Regions from separate parts of the Homo sapiens genome. Here region 2 is linked to region 1. The links are contacts of gene promoters, found by promoter capture Hi-C in human tissues and cell types (Jung and others, 2019). All regions are on one chromosome and are shown on one strand. The core of a region is centred on a gene start or on the middle of the fragment in contact, and the rest is flanking DNA. Distances in the headings are between cores, read along the strand shown. Region 1 holds the start of CCDC27 (coiled-coil domain containing 27). Region 2 overlaps WRAP73 (WD repeat containing, antisense to TP73).

Region 1 (2,546 bases), core at 12-2,511:
GTCCCCTCTGTCCCCTCTCCAGCACACTGGATGCTCAGCAAGAGCCACGCAGACCCACTTTGGAAACCATAGTCCAGCCGGGCATGGTGGCTCATGCCTGTAATCCCAGCACTTTGGGAGGCCAAGGCGGGCAGATCACATGAGGTTGGGAGTTTGAGACCAGCCTGACCAACATGGAGAAACCCCATCTCTATTAAAAATACAAACAAACAAACAAATAAAATTAGCCGGGCAAGGTGGCACATTGTAATCCCAGCTACTCTGGAGGCTGAGGCTGGAGAATCACTTGAACCCAGGAGGTGGAGGTTGCGGTGAGCCAAGATCGCGCCATTGCACTCCAGCCCGGGTGACAAGAGTGAAACTCCGTCTCAAAAAAAAAAAAAAAAAAAAGAAAAAGAAAAAAAGAAACCATAGTCCACTAGGTCCAGGCAATGCATTCACCCAGGAAGCTGCCAGGAGCCGGGGTGACCATCTCGGGCTCCCCCAGTACACGGTGGCACAGCGTACCTGACTGGCTGAGGTCCCCTTTCACATTTTCTCCCCTTCACTCTCCTTTTCAAGATGCACCTTGGGAGTCTTGGGGCAAACTGTACATCTTCTCCCCTTGGCCAACCAGAGACACCGGGAGCCAAGGTCTGCAAGAGGGGAGGACCAACCCAAAGCAGCTAACCCAGAAGAAGCCGGTGGCATGTGGGGACTAAGGCACCAGGCCCTTCAGAAAGGGAGAGGACCGCAGGGCTCTTTCCACCCCTAGCGCTCAATTCGTTGCCTGCCTGGAATCCCCCTTTGGTAACCCATCACCAGAAGGCCTGTGGAATGCTTTGTGGGCTGACAGCTCTATGGGCCTTTGGGGAGGAGAAGAAACAGGTCACCTCAAGGCTCGTGGCAGCCCTCCTCCCGGGACCCCATACCGTCTTCCTGTAGTAGCGGCTGATGGTCTGGACCGACTTGCTGAGCGTGCGTGGCTTTTGGTGCGGTTTCCATTCTGGGCACCGGGCGTCCCGGCTGGCCATGCTCTGGAGGAGCACCAGGGCCCTGGCCATCGAGCTGGACATCGAACTGTGCCTCTGAGATGGGCTGGCCTCCTTAGGTAACATGAGGCGTGGGATGCAAAGACCAAGTGAGCTTTGTTGCCTGAATGTGGACCTGAATGAGGACAGGCCCGGCTTTTCCCGTGGATCTCTCTTCAGCCTGGCTTGGGGTGTGGAGGGGAAGATGGCCTCGAACATGAACCTGCTGGCTGGTGCAGTGGGAGGAGATCAGCTTCCAGAGCTCCAGGTCCTGTGGGCTCCTGGGAGCAGTGGTGGCATCACAGATGTCTCCATAGAAACCGTTATTGAGCAAAAGGGGCCCGCGGCTGGATGCGCTGGAGGCCAGTGCTGTGACACCAGGTTTTTGAGAAGAGCAAAGCTCAATATTGAAGGTTGCCTTCTGGGCTGGGTGTGGTGGCTCACACCTGTAATCCCAGCACTTTGGGATGCCCAGGTGGGAGGCATGCTTGAGCCCAGGAGTTAAACATTTTAATTAGCCAGGCATGGTGGCGTGCACCTGTAGTCCCAGCTCCTCAGGAGGCTGAGATGAGAGGATCACCTGAGCCTGGGGAGGTCGAGGTTGCAGTGAGCTGTGTTCACGTCACTGCACTCCAGCCTGGACTACAGAGTGAGACCCTATCTCCAAAAGAAAAAAGAAAAAAAGAAAAAAAAAAAGAAAGAAAAGAAAAAAAGAAAAGTCAGCTCCCAAGGACACAGGAGTCCAGCTCAAATGTCTCCATGTGCTGGCTTGAAGACAGTAATTGTATTAGAAAAGGTTAGGCTGGGTGCGGTGGCTCATGCCTGTAATCCCAGCACTTTGGGAGGCCGAGGTGGGCGGATCACGAGGTCAGGAGATCGAGACCATCCTGGCTAACACAGTGAAATCCCGTCTCTACTAAAAGTACAAAAAATGAGCCGGGCGTGGTGGCGGGCGCCTGTAGTCCCAGCTACTTGGGAGGCTGAGGCAGGAGAATGGCGTGAACCCAGGAGGCGGAGCTTGCAGTGAGCAGAGATCGCACCAGAGCACTCCAGCCTGGGCAACAGAGTGAGACTCCATCTCAAAAAAAAAAGGTTTAGGGGGTGGGCTCTGGGATTAGAAACATTTGGCCAAGAAATACCTAGAAGAGTAGATAAGAGTAGCCTGACTCCCTGGGAATGATTTTCCAGGCTTCAAATGCCTACCTCAAGACATCTTTTAAGGAGAGAAAGACAAAACCCCTACCTTCAGAAGCCTTGATTAGGGTCTGAATGGGAAGAAAGGCTTCTCTGCTTGCTGACTGAAGGAAATTTGAAGGGGGCCTGCCCCATCCACACCTGTGGGTATTTCTCTTCAGGTGGAGATGAGAGACTGAGAAAAGAAACAAGACGCAGAGACAAAGTATAGAGAAAGAACAGTCAGCCCAGGGGACCGGCACACTCAGCATGCAAGGACCTGCATCGGCGCTGGTCTCTGAGTTCCCTCAGTATTTATGGATCACTGTTTTTACTACCTTGGTGAGGGGAGTGTGGCAGGGC
Region 2 (2,546 bases), core at 14-2,513, 110 kb after region 1:
CATTTCCCGTTTCGTGTTAGGAATAGGTTAATGGAGATAAATGAGCATTTGCGAAGCATCTTTATGTGTGCAGAAGTGAAAGCCTGTCTTTTGATCTTCTGTTGTTTTGGCTCTGAGTTCGGCACTGCATAAGAAGATTGATGCATTCCTTGCCATTTTCGTTGTCATCTGTGAAGCCTCAATTCTTACCCTTTATAAATTTGAGGAAATTGTCCAAAAGTGTTTATAAAACTAGCAGAGGATTTTGGTTATTAGTTCACAGAAGAGCTTTCTCCCAATGCTACTTCCCATTTAAGTTTAGTTTTTAACATACAGATAAGAAGGGACTTAAAAATGTCTTAAAGCTTTAAGTAGCGAGTTAAAACATACTTTTATACTTTACAATAGAGTATAGCAATATTAAAACCTGGCTTGTATATTTCAACATTACCCTTGTATGAACTGAACTGATCTTTAGGGGCTGGGGATGTCACTGGTGATCTAGACATGAAACCTCTGGCAGGAGAGAAGGCCACAGTCACTGAAGGCCAGGGCAGTAGCATTCCGAAGGCCCCCCTCTTTTGGAGTGGAGAATGTCAGGTGCTTGCTTTCTCATATTTTTTAGGCTTCCTGTGTCCAGTACCGGTTAGTGGTCCGGGATGTGAACACCCTTCAGATCCTTCAGCTGTACACGTGCCTAGACCAGATCCAGCACATCGAGTGGTCGGCAGACTCGCTCTTCATCCTGTGCGCCATGTACAAGCGAGGGCTGGTGCAGGTGTGTGCTGCCGTGTCGCTTAGAATCTGGACACCTTCTGAGGGCCCCTGGGAAGGAGGGGTTTTGTTCTGTGCCTTTCTAGTTTGAAAAAAAAGTCCGTGCAGCTCAAAGCCAGTTTTCTTTTGAAATTATAACGTTCTCTAAAGTTTAAGAACATTTAAACTAAGGAAACTCCAACGTAGTCTTAATTTCTAAGCAATATAGTTGAGAAACGGAGGTGTTGACAGCAATCTAGCCACGCGGATGTGGTGTGTTTCAGGAAGTCCTAAGAAGTCGTGTTTTCTTCTGTGTCCAAAGCTTAACTAAATGAGGTCTTAGGAATGACAATGTGAATAAACAGTTTTAAAACAACAACGAAATGAAATCACCAAGAAGCGTGGCTTACTTTTACACTGGAATCCAGCACCAGCCCTTCATCATGAAAGGTTCTAAAAGACACCCTGTGTGATCGGGTCTCTGCTGGTTTTAAGGGAGTTGTCTCTCGGCGAGGCCTCGCTATAGACTGCTGATGAGTTTGAAGACACCCTGTGCGGTCGGGTCTCCGCTGCGTTTAAGCGAGCTGTCCTCGCTGTCTCTCGGTGCTGATGAGTTTGCACTTGTGTGTTTCTTTCTTCTCTCAATCCAGGTCTGGTCTTTAGAGCAGCCCGAATGGCACTGCAAAATAGACGAGGGCTCAGCCGGGCTGGTGGCCTCGTGCTGGAGCCCGGACGGGCGCCACATTCTCAACACCACGGAATTCCATGTAAGTGTCAGCCCCAAGACACCTTACTGGCCATGTGATCCTGTCCTCTGCTCTCGAAACAGCTGGGGAGTGCGAGAGGGGGTGTGTTTGGAGTATGCTAGTCTCCCCTTATCCTCAGGGGATGCATTCTAAGACCACCAGGGGATTCAGATTGTACCAAACCCTGTATTTCCTGTGTTTTTTCCTATACAGCATACCTGTGATACATTTAATTTATAAATTAGATACAGTAAGAGATTAGCAACAATCATAGTATAGAACAAGGATAACAATATACTGTTTATAATTGCATGGATAGAAGATTTGGTCTTACTGAAGATCTGAGCAACAACCTCAGCATAGGATTTTTTCTTTCCTTGTTGCGTCAAGAACTTTCAGCTCGTCATTTAAAGGAAGCACTTTGTGGCTTCTCTTTGGCGTATCCAGATTGCGAGCCCCACCGCCCGTGCTTTGGGCTGCTACTGAGTCAGATAAGGGTGTCGTGAACACAGGCACTGTCTGCTGCCCTGGGTCTGATGACTGAGGTGGCTCCCGAGTGGCTGGTAGATTGGCGGGGTTGGAGGGAGCCGGGGAGCGTATATAGTGGTGTGTATATTTTAGGTCAGAGCATTATAAGCCACTAAGTATTATTGTCTGATCTTTTGTCCAGTTTTGAAGAAAAAACATTTTAAAAATCTTAATTTAGATTTTTTAGGATTTCGGCACTCCCTTTAATTCAACGATAGAAAATGCGCTGTGATATGAGCCGGCTCGCACCTTTCCTTCAGGAGCCTGGCCTGGGGGCGTGGCTCGGGGCGGTCGGCAGCCGCCCATTCACCTGCTGTAGGTACCGCACAACAGCCTCCGTGCTGAGCTCAGCGCGGAGGGGAATGTTGACATCCGAGAATAAATCAGAGGGATCTGGGATAGGAGACTGCATTTTAAGTTAAAATTAGGCATATGTCAAGTGTTTAGATACCAGGTCTTTGGTGTCCGCAGTGTCTTTTTAAGATACAGAAAAATGGACGAATTCCTTTAATAATGTGCTTTTCTGATGGAGTTGGATCC

Evidence for each region. Contacts are between HindIII fragments. The study calls those that stand out against the background at their distance.
Region 2: a fragment that was not itself captured here is called in contact with the fragment with the promoter of CCDC27 in region 1 in 2 of the 25 tissues and cell types used here (H1 embryonic stem cells and mesenchymal stem cells).

Annotation. Positions count from the first base shown.
Region 1 is chr1:3,751,165-3,753,710 of GRCh38, reverse strand. CCDC27 (coiled-coil domain containing 27) reads right to left here and starts at 1,261. Exons shown (of 12, transcript NM_152492.3): 1 at 912-1,261. The coding sequence starts at 1,229. The HindIII fragment of the contact is 11,219 bases long and covers 1-2,546 here.
Region 2 is chr1:3,645,619-3,648,164 of GRCh38, reverse strand. It overlaps WRAP73 (WD repeat containing, antisense to TP73), which reads left to right. Exons shown (of 12, transcript NM_017818.4): 2 at 605-757; 3 at 1,383-1,499. Among named protein-coding and RNA genes, the nearest start is that of WRAP73, 3.2 kb to the left of the region's middle. The HindIII fragment of the contact is 3,229 bases long and covers 1-2,546 here.